Linked DNA regions of Homo sapiens: region 1 is linked to region 2. Evidence: promoter capture Hi-C in 16 types of primary human blood cells and fetal thymus (Javierre and others, 2016). All regions are on one chromosome and are shown on one strand. The core of a region is centred on a gene start or on the middle of the fragment in contact, and the rest is flanking DNA. Distances in the headings are between cores, read along the strand shown. Region 1 overlaps PLXNB3-AS1 (PLXNB3 antisense RNA 1). Region 2 holds the start of AVPR2 (arginine vasopressin receptor 2).

Region 1 (7,382 bases), core at 3,676-6,175, 140 kb before region 2:
GACACTTCGTAAAAAAAAAAAAAAAAAAAAGAGAGAGAGAGAGATTAAATTGTCTCTGTTTGCAGATCACACAATCCTGTATGCAGAAAACCCTAAAGACTCCACCGAAAAATTGTTAGAATTCAGTCAAGGTACAGGATACAAAATCAGCATACAAAACAATAGCTTTTATTTTTTATTTTATTTTTTTTTTTTTGAGACAGAATCTTGCTCTATCACCCCACCTGGAGTACAGTGGCTCAATCACAGTTCACTGCAGCCTTGACCTCCTGGGCTTCTCCCACCTCAGCTTCCTGAGTAGCTGAGACTACAAATGTGCACCATCATGCCTGACTAATTAGTATTAATATTATTGCTATTATTGAGACAGGGTCTTGTTTAGTTGCCTGGGCTGGTCTTGAATTTCTGGGCTCAAGTGATCCTCCTGCCTTGGCCTCTCAAAGTGCTGGAATTACAGGTGTGAGCCATCATGCCTCACCTAGTAGCATTTCTATATGCTATATGCTAACAATGCACTTTCTTTTTTTTTTTTTTTTTTTTGAGACAGAGTCTCTGTTGCCCAGGCTGGAGTGCAGTGGCACTATCTCGGCTCACTGCAAGCTCCGCCTCCCGGGTTCACGCCATTCTCCTGTCTCAGCCTCTCCGAGTAGCTGGGACTACAGGCGCCCGCCACCATGCCCAGCTAATTTTTTGTATTTTTAGTAGAGACAGGGTTTCACCGTGGTCTCGATTCCTGACCTTGTGATCCGCCCACCTCGGCCTCCCAAAGTGCTGGGATTACAAGCGTGAGCCACTGCGCCCAGCCAATGCACTTTCTAAAAAAGAAATCATCAAAGAAGATTTATTTTGTTATCCAAAAAGGAAATCAAGCCAACAATCTCATTTATAATAGCTATAAAAAATAAAATACTTAGGAATAAGTTTAACCAAGGAGGTGAAAGACCTATACACCGAAAACTGTAAACCACAGATGAAAGAAACTGAAGAAAACACAAATAAATGGAAAGATACCCTGTGTTCATGGATTGGGATAGTTAATATTGTTAAAATGTCTATACTACCCAAAGTGATCTACACATTCAATGTAATCCCTATCAATATTCCCATGAGATTTTTCACAGAAATAGAGAAAGCAATTCTAAAATGTATGTTAAACCACAAAAGACCCCAAATAGCCAAAGCAATCTTGAACAAAAAGAACAAAACTGGAAGACTCATGCTATCTGATCTCAAAATATGTTACAAAGCTATAGTAACCAAAACAGCATGGTTCTGGCATAAAAACAGACACATACACCAACGTAACAGAATAGTGAACCCAGAAATAAATCTATGCATTTACAGTTGATTGATCTTCGACAAAGGTGCCAATAATACATGATAGACAAAAGACAGTCTTGTCAATAAATGGTGTTGGGAAAATTGGATATTCACTTGCAGTAGAATGAAATTAGACCCTTATCTCACACAATGCACAAAGATCAACTCAAAACGGACTGAAGATTCAAATGTGAGACCTGAAATTAGAAAACTACTAGAAGAAACTTACGTGAAAAGCTGCTTGGCACTGGTCTGGGCAATAAGTTTTTCAATATGACACCAAAAGCACAGGCAACAAAACAAAAACAGACAAATGAGTTTGCATCAAACTAAAAAGCTTCTGCACAGCAGAGGAAGCAATCAACAGAGTGAAGGAGACAGCCTATGGAATGGAAGAACATAGTTGTAAACCATCCATCTGATACAAGGTTAATACACAGAACACACAAGGAACTCATACAACTCAATAGCAAGCAAATGTATTTTCTAACCCAGTTAAAATAACCCAGTTACACCTACTATGTACTCCTAAAAATTAAAAATTGAAAATTGAAAAAATAAATAACCCAATTTAAATGGGCAAGGACCTGAACAGGCATTTCTCAAAAGAAGACATACAAACGGCCAATAGGTCTATTAAAAAAAAATGCTCAACATCAGCCGGGTGCAGTGCTCACGCCTGTAATCCTAGCACTTTGGGAAGCCGAGGTGAGTGGATCACCTGAGGTCAAGAGTTCAGGACCTGCCTGGCCAACATGGTGAAACCCTGTCTCTACTAAAAATACAAAACTTAGCCAGGTGTGGTGGCATACGCCTGTAATCCCAGCTACTCCAGAGGCTGAGGCAGGAGAATCACTTGAATCCGGGGGGCAGAGGTTGCAGTAAGCCAAGATCGCGCCACTTCACTCCAGCCTGGGCGAAAGAACAAAACTCCATCTTAAAAAAAGAAAAAAATGCTCGACATCACCAATCATCAGGGAAATGCAACTCAAAACCACAATGAGACACCACCTCACTCAAATTAGAATGATCGTTTTCAAAAAGACAAAAGAAAACAAACTTTGGCGAGGGTGTGGAGAAAAGGGAACATTTTGGAACAGTATGGAAAATGGTATGCATGGTGGTTCCTCAAAATATTTAAAGTGAGAATGACCATACAATCCAGCAATCCCATTTCTGGGTATGTATCTAAAGGAAATGAAATCGGTATGTCGAGGCAATATCCACACTCGCATGTCCATTGAAGCACTACTCACAATCGCCAAGATATGGAATCAAACGAAATGCCCACCAACAGATGAATGGATAAAGAAAATGTGGTACAGATACACAATGGATCACTACTCAGCCTTTAAAAAGAAGGCAATCCTGCCATTTGCAACATGGAGGAACCTGGAGGACATTACATTAAGTGAAGTAAGCCGGGCACAGAAAGGCAAATACTGCATGACGCTGCTCACGTGGAAAGTAAAAATGTCAGCCTCATGGAAACAGAGCAGAACAGTGGCCGCCAGGACTGGGGTAGGGGAAATGGGAAAATGCTGGTCAAAGGGTACCAAGTTTCAGTTATGCAGGATGGAGACGTTCCAGAGATCTGATGTACAGCATGGTGATTCTAGTTAACACATTTAAAAAAATAAAACCAAAAAATTTGTTGCAAAAGTAAATAATTTATTGTTTAAGGCTAATTCATATTTGGGACAAGTATAAAGAAAACCAAGGAAAGGCTAGGACTAACTGCGAAGGGAAAAAGAAGGGTCCATGATGGCTGTCAGTGGGGATGATTCATCTAAGCAGCATATGCTCTTCCGTGTGTATTAGATTGAACAAGATGAAACTGCAATTTTTGTAGGTTAACAATAAATGAACATTAAGCAACGTCATCTGGTTTTGACCCAAGACATTTATTAATAATAAATCAATGATAAAATAAAACCAAAACACTTTATGCTAATAAACTTGAAAACTTAAACAAAATGGGCATGTTCCAGCCAGGCGCGGTGGCTCACGCTTGTAATCCCAGCACTTTGGGAGACCGACGCAGGTGGATCACCTGAGGTCAGGAGTTCAAGACCAGCCTGGCCAACACAGTGAAACTCCGTCTCTGCTAAAAATACAAAAATCAGCTGGGCGTGGTAGCGGGCACCTGTAATCCCAGCTACTCGAGAGGCTGAGGCAGGAGGATTGCTTGAACCCAGGAGGCAAAGGTTGCAGTGAGCCAAGATCATGCCACTGCACTCCAGCCCGGGCGACAGAGCTAGATTCTGTCTAAAAAAAAAAAAAAAAAAGCATGTTCCTAGAAAAATATTGTTTATCAAAAATTGACTCAAAATAGAATGATTCATCCTAAATTCAGATAGAATCTCAAGGGGCTCCAAATAACCAAAACAATTCTGAAAAAGGAGAACAAAGTTCGAGGACTCACACTTCCTGATTTACAAAATAAAACATATTACAGTGTGGTCCTGGCATAAAGACAGAGACAGAATATAATCCAGAGCCCAGAAAGAAACTCTCAAGTATATGGTCAGATGATTTTTGACAAGGGTATCAAGGCTACAAATTGGGAAAAGGGCAGTCTTTTCAACAAATGGTATAGGGGAAACTTGATATCCACATGCAAAAGAATAAAGTTGGAGGCTGGGCATGGTGGCTCACACCTGTAATCCCAGTGCTTTGGGAAGCCAAGGTAGGAGGATTGATTGAGTCTGGGAATGGGAGACCAGCCTGGGCAAAGTAACAAGATCCCATCTCTACCAAAAACATTAAAAATTTGAGGCTGAAGCACAAAAATTGCTTGAACCCGGGAGGCAGAGGTTGCAGTGAGCTGAGATCACGCCACTGTACTCCAGCCTGGGTGACAAAGTGAGATCTGTCTCAAAAAAAAAAATTAAATTAAAAATTAGCTGGGCATGGTGGTGAATGCCTATAGTCCCAGCTACCCAGGAGGCTGAGGCAGGAGAATTGCTTGAGACCAGGAGTTTGAGGTTACAATGATTATGCCACTGCACCCCAGCCTGGGCAACAGAGCAAGACCTGTCTCAAAAAAAAAAAAAAAAAAGATGGCAAATTTTGTGTTATGTATTTTTTCCCACAATAAAAAAATTACTCAAGAAGAAACAGAAAACCTAAATGGTCCCATAATTATTACAGAAGTTGGATTCATTGTTTAAAATCTATAGGGGGACAGGCAGGAAGCTACAAAAACAAGGAAGGCCAGGCCAGATGCGGTGGCTCATGCCTGTAATCCCAGCACTTTGTGAGGCCGAGGCAGGCAGATCACCTGAGGTCAGGAGTTCAAGACCAGACTGGCCAACATGGCGAAACACCGTCTCTACTAAAAATACAAAACTTAGCTGGACGTGGTGGTGCATGCCTGCAGTCCCAGCTACTCGGGAGGCTGAGGCAGGAGAATCGCTTGCACCCAGGAGGCAGAGGTTGCAGTAAGCCAAGACTGTACCACTGCACTCCAGCCTGGGCAACAGAGTGAGACTCTGTCTCAAAACAACAACAAAACAAAACAAAACAAAACAAAAAAAACAAAGAAGAGAAAAGAAAAGAAACAAAACAAAAAACAGAAAATAAAAAACAAGGAAGGCCTAGATGGTTTTACAGATGATCTCCAGCAAACATGGAAGTAACTGATCATCTCCATCTTAGACTAACTGTTCCAGTGAACAGCTGAAAAAGGAAATACTGCCTCAACTCACTTTACGATGTCTTGATACCAAAACCAGACGAGGATAATAATACGAGGCTAAAAAAAAAAAAAAAAACCACCCAATCCAGAATTGTATATGAAAAAAATACATCACGCAAAGTTGAGTTTAGTCCAGAAAATACAAGAGTGGTTTAACATTTAAAAATGAATTAATGTAATTTGCCACATTAACAGATTAGAGGAGGAAAACCCTGTGATCATATTAATGCATTCAGAAAAAGCATTTTATAAAAATTCAACATATAGCACACTAGGAATGGGAGGGAGCTTTCTAAATCTGATAAACATATCTACCGAATGCTCCCTGCAAACATCATACTTAATAATGGAACACTGAGAATGCCTCCTATGCTTTTTTTTTTTTTTTTTTTTTTTTTTTGAGACAGAGTTTCGCTTTTGTTGCCCAGGCTGGAGTGCAATGGCTCGATCTTGGCTCACCGCAACCTCGGCCTCCTGGGTTCAAGCGAGTCTCCTGCCTCAGCCTCCCAAGTAGCTGGGATTACAAGCATGGGCCACCATGCTCGGCTAATTTTTTTGTATTTTTAGTAGAGACAGAGTTTCTCCATGTTGGTCAGGCTGGTCTCGAACTCCTGACCTCAGGTGATCCACCCACCTCGGCCTCCCAAAGTGCTGGGATTACAGGCGTGAGCCACCATGCCCAGCGCCTCCTATGCTTTCATTCAAAGGAAGTAAAAGCAAGAGAAAGCAAGTCCAGGGAAGTAAAGCAAGGAAACGAAATCAGCCGGGCACAGTGGCTCACGCCTGTAATCCTAGCACTTTGGGAGGCCAAGGCAGGTGGATCAGGAGTTCCAGATCAGCCTGGCCAACATGGTGAAACCCTGTGTCTGGTAAAGATACAAAAATTAGTCAGGCGTGGTGGTGGGTGCCTGTAGTCCCAGCTTCTTGGGAGGCTGAGGCAGGAGAACTGCTTGAACCAGGGAGGCGGAGGTTGCAGTGAGCCAAGATTGTGCCACTATACTCCAGCCTGGGTGACAGAGCCAGACTCTGCCTCAAAAAAAGAAATCAAAGCTAAAAAGACTGGAATAGAAGAAACAAAATGGTCATTACTTGCAGATGATAGGATTGTGTACGCAGAAAATCAAAAAGAATCCACAAAGAGAACCCAAACATAATTATTAGACTTAATATGAGAGTTTACAAGGTTACTTGATACATAGAAATCCATTGTTTTTCTATGTACCAGCAACACACAGTCTGAATGGGAATTCAAAAGAAGGTAGCCAGGCGCAGTGGCTCACAGGCTCACGGGCCAGCACTTTGGGAAGCCAAGGCGGGAGGGCCGCTTGAGTCCAGGAGTTTGAGACCAGCCTGGGCAACATAGCGAGACCCTGTCTCTACAAAAAAATTACAAAATTAGCCAGGCACTGTGGCGCCTGCCTGTAGTCCCAGGTGTTTGGGAGGCTAAGGTGGGAGGATCACTTGAGCCCAGGAGGCTTCAGTGAGCCATGATTGCGCCAATGCACCCCAGCCTGCACGACAGAGCGAGACCCCGTCTCAAAAAAAGAAATCAGATTGATAAATGCTATGATATTAAAATTAAGACTTTCTGTTTATCACATGATACATCAGCAAACTGAGAAGACAAGTAACAGGTAGGCCGAAGACATACACCCCAGGGATTGGTGTGGAAAATACAGAACACCTGCAAAGTGTAAGCCAAGACATGCACGGGCATTTGACAGAAGAAATGAAAAGTGCTGCAATATGGCCGGTGGTCAAGGAATGCCGATTCAAAACCCAGCAGGGCACCATTTCACACCCACTGTATGCGCAGAAACTCTCAAGTCTGCTCTCTGGTGTACGTGAAGACGTGGTGCAGCAGTGGCAGTGGGGGTGTCCGCTGGGATGCCAGCATGGAGAGCTACGTCTTCAGCCCAGCAAACGTGAAGCCCACGTCCCACTGACCCAACGAGTCCCCTTCCAGCATTGAGAAGCCTGGCACACAGCAAGGAGACGACACCAGATCAGTTGACGCTGCCTTCCCATCCCTTGGTGAGGGGACCCGGCCATTGCAGGATAAATCCAGCACGACTCCCCTGACATAAGATGTTCCGGTTCCCCAAACCAGCCTAGATCCTTTCTGGTTACACCAGCTTCAGACCAGGGGCTGCCATAGCCACGCCTCTTATCTGCTCAGAAAGCGTAGAAGGTGCATATGCAGGCCATATACACACATATTTATGAAAATGGTGCTGCCTGTGGATGGATTTATTTTCTTTTTTCTTTCTTTCTTTTCTTTTTTTTTTAAAGACAGAGTCTTGCACTGTCACCCAGGCTAGAGTGCAATGGCACCATCACGGCTCACTGCAGGCACCAACTC
Region 2 (7,511 bases), core at 5,012-7,511:
TAAGCACCTAATCTACCAAATATATGAAACAAAATTTATAGGACTAAAGGGTTCTAGATACAGATAAATCTCCAAACATACTGGCCAACTTTAACATTCCTTTCTCAGTAAATGATAAAACAAATAGGAAAAAAATCAGAAGAATATAGATTTGAACAACACTATCAACCTAATTGACTCAATTGATATGTACGGAACACTACATCCAACAACAGCAGAACACATATTCTTCTCAAGTGCAGATGGAACCCCAACCAACACAGACAACTTCTGGGCAATCGAGCAAGCCTCAATAAATTACAAAGGGTCAAAATCATACAAAGTACGATTTCTGACCAAAATGATGTTGAATTAGAAATCAACAACAAAAAGACATCTAGGAATTTTCTAAATATTTTGAAATGAAAAAATATCTACTTCCAAATAACCCAAGAACCAAAGAAGAAACCACAAGTAAAATTATTGGTAGAACATATCTTTCACTGAATAGAAATGCAAATAAAATATGAAAATTTGGGAATTCAACAAAACAACTGATTAGAGGAAAAGGAACTACTTATATTAGAAAAGCAGAAAGGTCCCAAAATAATTATTTAAATTTCTACTTTAAGAAACTAGAGCCGGTCACGGTGGCTCACACCTGTAATCCCAGCACTTTGGGAGGCCGAGGCAGGCAGATCATGAGGTCAAGAGATCGAGATGATCCTGACCAACATGGTGAAACCCCATCTCTACTAAAAAATACAAAAATTAGCTGGGCGTGGTGGTGTGCACCTGTAATCCCAGCTACTCAGGAGGCTGAGGCAGAAGAATTGCTTGAATCTGGGAGGCAGAAGTTGCAGTGAGCCAAGATCACACCACTGCACTCCAGCCTGGGCAACAAGAGCAAAACTTCGTTTCAAAACAAAACAAAACAAAAAGATCAATGAAATTGATAAGCCTCTAGCCAGACTGATCAGAAAAAAAAAATGGAGAGAAGATACAAATTACCAATATGGAGAATAAGAGAGAGGGGGCATTATTACAGATCCTACAAACATAAAAAAGTGATAAGAGGATGTTGTGAAAAACTTATTCCAATACATCCAACAACTTAGATGAAATGGACAAATTCCTTGAAAGATACAAATGGTCAACGCTCATTTAGGAAAAAATAGATAACCTGATTAGCCCTGTATCTGTCAGAAGAGTTGAATTTATAACTGAAAAAATTCTCACAAAGAAAACTCCAGGTTTGTGTAAATAATACCAATTCTATACTAACTCTTCCAGAAAACAGAAAAAGAGAGAACACTTCCCAACTCGTTTTATAAAGTCAGCATTATACTCATCCCCAAACCAAAGATATTACAGAAAGGGAAAACGTAGACCAGCATCTCTCATTAATACAGATGTAAAAATGGTAAACAACAGCCAGGCACAGTGGCTCACACCTGTCATCCCAGCACTTTGGGAGGCCAAGGTGGGTGGATCAGAGGTCAAGAGATCGAGACCATCCTGGTTAACATGATGAAACCCTGTCTCTACTAAAAACACAAAAATTGGCCGGGTGTGGTGGCTCATGCCTGTAATCCCAGCACTTTGGGAGGCCGAGGCAGGTGGATCACCTGAGGTCGGGAATTCGAGACCAGCCTGACCAACATGAAGAAACCCCGTCTCTACTAAAAGTACAAAATTAGCTGGGCATGGTGGCGCTTGCCTGTAATCCCAGCTACTTGGGAGGCTGAGGCAAGAGAATCTCTTGAACCTGGGAGGCGAAGGTTGCAGTGAGCCAAGATCTCGCCATTGCACTGCAGCCTGGGCAACAAGAGTGAAACTCCGACTCAAAAAAAAAAAGAAAAAAAAGAAAAAAATTCAATACTCACTTGTGATAAAAGCTTTCAGTATACCGGGTGACAGAGTGAGAGACTATGCCTCCTCCCCACCAAAAAAAATATAAAAAAAAAAAAGAAGTTACACAAAATACTATGTACTCTTTTATTTATTTATTTATTTTTATTATTATTTTTTTTTGAGACGGAGTCTTGCTGTGTCACCCAGGCTGGAGTGCAATGGCAAGATCTCGGCTCACTGAAACCTCCGCCTCCCGGGTTCAAGCGATTCTCCAGCCTCAGCCTCTGAGTAGCTGGGATTACAGGCTTGCGCCACCACGCCCGGCTAATTTTTGAAAATACTACATACTCTATGATTCTATTTATATAAAATTCTAGAAAAGGAAAATCTATAGTGATAGATCAGTGGTTGCTAGGCTTTCAGGTAGGGGAAGAAGCTTGACTGCAAAAGGCCACGAGGGAACTTTCTGGAATGTCGAAAATATTTATTCTATGTCATGATTGTGGTTGTGGTTACACGACTGTATACATTTGTCAAATCTTACTGAACAGTACAATTACAATTAATGAATTTTACTGTATGCTAATCATACCTCAATAAAGCCGAAAAAAAAAAAAGTCATTCTGGAGGAGAGAAATCATTGCCTGCGGAGGGCCATTCCAGGGTGGTGAGTGCATGAGCACTGAAGACACCCGGAGCAGCTGCTGCAATAATCTGGGGGAGGAACGTGCAGGCAGAGAGAGCAAGAGGAAGTCAGACTGGGAAACCCCGAGGCAGTTACCCAAACAGCCCACTAACAGCAACTGCAGTCGGCCGCCTCTGGGGAGGAAAGCGGGAGGGGCCACTGCCTTTAAAAAAGAAAAAAAAAAAAAATCTCTGCAGTTTTGCCAGGGAGCCGCCTCCTGCCTGACTCTCACATGATGACCTGGAGGCCATCTATGGGTACGGCCCTCAAGCCCTCAACGCTCACCCTCCTTCTACCCCCCGCCCCTCACCCCAGCACCTGCTGGAGACCCTGGCCCTCCCTTCCACTCCGCGAGGCTCTTAATCTATCCAGTTCCATGGGCTGCCTTTCCGCAGCTATAAACAGGCTCTGTCCAGCTTTCCCAGTTATTATTCACTTAGGTGAATGGACACAATTAGATGATCATCCGCAGGCTGTCTTCCTGTCATCATTGGCACACGCACACACCCTCACACACGCACACACCCTCACACACGCACACACCCTCACACACGCGCACACCCTCACACACAACCCCCCCAACGCCACACACACACACACCACACACCCTCACACACAACCACCCACGCCACACACACACCACACACCCTCACATGCACACCCTCACACACCACACACCACACACACCCCACACACACGCCCACCCTCACATACGCACACTCTCACACACACCCTCACACACTCTCACACCCTCACACACGCACACCCTCACACACACCCTCACATTCACACAAGTACACTTGAGTTTTTATTAAATTTGTTTTTGTCCCCTTCAATCCCATCCTCCAACCCGTTGTTCCTCCCTATCTCCTGGGCTCTAGGTATTCTCCTTCGGGTCACAGTCCCTGTGAGGGCCGTTCCTGTTGACAGGCACTTGGCTCCGTCCTTCCCACTGCCCACAGGCTCCACCATCTGCACATGCACCCCTCCCACACAATCGGGGGCCTCTTTCTCCTCGTCCTTGGCTGCCTCCTCTTTGTCTTCCACCCCTTACAAATCCTTCAGGGCCCTTTAAATGCCTTTTCCACCTGCCTGCTCCCTCTAGCCCCGCTGCCCAGTGTTAAGTGGGTCGCACCATTTCTCTCCTGGGTGACAGGCACAGCTTCCACCAGCCTCCCTGCCTCCACTCTTCTCTGCAGAAGCCCATGTGCTCCTGGGGCAGAGCCCAGGTCCTTCCATCTCTGCAGCCACAGTGCTAGGCCAGCGGCACTTGCAGTTTGGTGAATGGAAGGTTCTGATCATGGGGAACCGGTAGATAGAGAGGGACAAACAGTGTCCCCCCAATCTGCCTCCTGTCCTCTTCTGCCCAGACACTAGGCTGGAAGATCAGGAGCCACACCTTGGCACTCACAGAGCCCTTTCTGCAAGTCTTAGAGGGACCAGTGGGAGGTGTGCACACAGGGGCTGCGCTGGCAGGAGTGGGGGCCTGGCACACCCCCAGGTAGATGCCCTGCCCGTTAACGCCCAAGGGCAGGGGCTTGAGTGACTCATGTGGGCCTAGCGTGAATCAGCACAGTCTGCCCTTCTTCCCATGGGAGCTGCTGCCCAGCCCCATCTTTCTTGGCCCCCGAGGGGTGGCTGCCCAGGGCCTCTCTCCTGGCACAGTTCCATGTAGTGCCTGCCCATGTGGCTCCCAGTTCCTCCCCGGGGTCCTGGCTGAGCAGAATGGCACTGGATCCTGATCTGGCTTCTTGCATCCCAGAGGAGACCGCCATGCGGGCCCTTCCTCCAGATTCTTCCCTAGTTTAACAACAGGAAGCGAGGAGTCCAGGGGGGCAGAGATTGCCACGGGCCTGGCCACATTGCTAGGGGAGGTCCCAACCTGCTGCTGAGATCCGGCACTGCACAGCCTCGTTCAGGCAGAGAAACTGATAAGGAGATGGTTGTCTGCTCACCCCAAAAGGTTAGCATGGATTCCTCGCCCTAGCCGGCTTTAGACGGAGGGAACAAAGGCTTTCCCAAGGCCCTGCCAGTCCCCACCCCTGCCCATCTTACCACCGTAGTCTCCCTCAATCATCAAGTCCCATTGCACAGAAGGGGAAGCTGAGGTGCCAAGAGCTGGCGTGGCCTGTTCAAGGTCACACTACTGGGCAGGGGCCAAGCAGGGGCTGGAGCCTTGCTTTCCTATTCCCCAGCCAGGGTCCCCAAATTCTCTGCCAGTTGAGGGAAGCCATCTCCTATTCCACTGATCTGGGTGGCATTAGGAAGGCCTTTTCTATGCTCCTAGATTAGTGACAGCATGCGGTTATTGGGGACAGCATGAGGATGTGCATGCGCTGAGGAGATGCAGCTGAAGCGTCAGGCCTGGGGTGCCAGCACTCTGCAGCCTGCCCCCAAGGGGCTCTGCAAAAACATGGCAAAGATGCGGGGTGTGATGTGCACCTGTGTGTGCTGCGGGTGTGTGCGTGTGTGGTGTTGGCTGTGCGTATGTGGTGTGTATGGCTGTGTGGTGGGTACATGTGTGGGTGTGTGGCGTATGGGAGTGTGTGATGTGTGCATGTGTGTGGTGTGTAATATATGTGTGCATGGTGTGGTGTGTGTGTGGTGTGGCGTATGGGTGTGTGGTGGGTGCATGTGTGTGTGGCGTGTGGCTGTGTGCATGTATGTATGTGGTGTGGTGTGTGCGCTGTCTCTGGAAAATGCCCACCCTGTGTTCCCACCACCCTAACAGGGCCGGGAGGGGCCAGGGTGCTGCCAGGCTCTCTGGGCAGGAAGAGGAGGCCTTGGCCGCGGGCCGGACTTGGGCCTGGTCCGTGAGGCTGTTTTGGTCTCTGGCTTCACAGGCAACAGAGAAGACAGACAAACAGGAAGAAAGCAGCTGCCTTGGGCTGGGCTGGGCTGGGCTGGCCTCGGCTGAGCCAAGCCAGGCCTGGGTGCGGGGGGAGTGGAAAGAGAACTACTGGGATGGGGGCTGGAGGGGGTGTGGGGACAGGGGAAGGAGAGAGGTGTTGGGGGAGGGAGGAGGAGGGCTCAGGTACAGGGAAGGTGCGTCCATACTCATGGTATGTTCAAGAACATGAGCGAGCGTCTCTGTGTTGTGTGTTTGTGGCTGTGTGGCTGTATCATGTGAGGTTGTGTGTGGTGGGAGGGAGCCCGTGAGCACACGGAGGTCCCCAGCCCCTCTTCCTAGGACAGGTAGTTGCAGGTGGGGCAGGAGGAAGAGGGTGGGGGTGTCCCTGGATCTCACAGGGGTTCGTGAAGCCTGGCTTGGCCCCTGCCCCACTCCTCCCTTTCCTGTCCCTCGTCTCCGGCCAACTGGGCCCTAACTGGGGAGGAGGAGGGGCCTGCGTGGGCCTGGGAGGGGCCCAGCGAAAGTGTTTTCACCCCTTCCTTGCCTGGGCCCAGCGAGGAGCAGGAGGACCCCAACTTGGGAAGGGGGCGTGAAGCTCCCATGAAAAAGCAGCGCAGTCCTGGGCCAGACCCACCGCTCTCTGGCCTCAGTTTCCCCACTTATAAAATGGGAATGCTGAACTAAGTGACCTCCCAGAGCACTGCCAACCCAGACAATCCAACCAGGGGGGCGTGGTAGGGTGAGGGTGGGCGTGGAGGCTATGGCAGTGGGAGGAGGGAGTCCTGGGCCGGGACCAGGGAGGCCCTGGGGAAAGGAAGGGAAACAGGAGGCCAGGGGAGGCCTGGGGGAAAGGGGGAGGGGGAGGAAGTCCCCTCCTGGCCAGGTCACTCCCAGAGGCTGGGCTGGGCCAGGGCAGGGCAGCCGATGGAGAGCAGATCTGAGCACCCAGCCACCTTCACGCCACCGCCCAGCTGCCCAGGAGCCCAGCCAGGTAAGGGGCTGCGCCTGCCTGCCCCCCTGCCCAGTCCCCAGCCCTCGGATGGTGGCCTCTCTCGGCCTCGGTTGGGGCAGGGGAGTTCTGCGTGTCTGTCTGGGGTGCCCACTCCCAAACCCGGGACTCATGGGCTGCCTGGGGGATCCTGGGTTCTGTGCATCCGTCTGTCTGACCATCCCTCTCAATCTTCCCTGCCCAGGACTGGCCATACTGCCACCGACACGTGCACACACGCCAACAGGCATCTGCCATGCTGGCATCTCTATAAGGGCTCCAGTCCAGAGACCCTGGGCCATTGAACTTGCTCCTCAGGCAGAGGCTGAGTCCGCACATCACCTCCAGGCCCTCAGAACACCTGCCCCAGCCCCACCATGCTCATGGCGTCCACCACTTCCGGTAAGGCTTGCCCCTCCATGAGTCCGGTGGGCAGAGTGGGTTTGACGATTCAGGGAAGCCCCTCTTTCTAAAGACCTCCTTCACCCTCACCTCTGGGTGTGTCTCTCCAGGCTGCCAATGAGTGGGGAGGGGAGCACAGCCCCACTTCCCCGCCAGGGCTGGGGCTGGGGCTGGGGCTGGGGCTGCCCTTCCTTCTGGACTGCATGAGCCTGGGGTGTGTATCCCTCATAACATGGCTTTCCTGGAGTCCCCTCTGCTAGGAGCCAGGAAGTGGGTGTCCGGATGGGGGCACGGGAGGCAGGCCTGAGTCCCCCTGCACAGCACCCTCTCTAACCAGGCCCTCTTCCCGACTCCTTCCCAGCTGTGCCTGGGCATCCCTCTCTGCCCAGCCTGCCCAGCAACAGCAGCCAGGAGAGGCCACTGGACACCCGGGACCCGCTGCTAGCCCGGGCGGAGCTGGCGCTGCTCTCCATAGTCTTTGTGGCTGTGGCCCTGAGCAATGGCCTGGTGCTGGCGGCCCTAGCTCGGCGGGGCCGGCGGGGCCACTGGGCACCCATACACGTCTTCATTGGCCACTTGTGCCTGGCCGACCTGGCCGTGGCTCTGTTCCAAGTGCTGCCCCAGCTGGCCTGGAAGGCCACCGACCGCTTCCGTGGGCCAGATGCCCTGTGTCGGGCCGTGAAGTATCTGCAGATGGTGGGCATGTATGCCTCCTCCTACATGATCCTGGCCATGACGCTGGACCGCCACCG

What was found. The method cuts DNA at HindIII sites, captures the fragments that hold promoters and counts their contacts. A CHiCAGO score of 5 or more calls a contact.
Region 1: a fragment that was not itself captured here is called in contact with the fragment with the promoter of AVPR2 in region 2 in 10 of 17 cell types (total CD8 T cells, M1 macrophages, M0 macrophages and 7 more); the score reaches 7.8 in total CD8 T cells.

What each region holds. Positions count from the first base shown.
Region 1 is chrX:153,755,097-153,762,478 of GRCh38, forward strand. The region is part of intron 2 of PLXNB3-AS1 (PLXNB3 antisense RNA 1); the gene reads right to left. Among named protein-coding and RNA genes, the nearest start is that of PLXNB3, 5.5 kb to the right of the region's middle. The HindIII fragment of the contact is 6,541 bases long and covers 1,656-7,382 here.
Region 2 is chrX:153,898,412-153,905,922 of GRCh38, forward strand. It overlaps AVPR2 (arginine vasopressin receptor 2), which reads left to right and starts at 6,262. Exons shown (of 4, transcript NM_000054.7): 1 at 6,262-6,360; 2 at 6,563-6,759; 3 at 7,121-7,511. The coding sequence starts at 6,735. The HindIII fragment of the contact is 5,945 bases long and covers 2,268-7,511 here.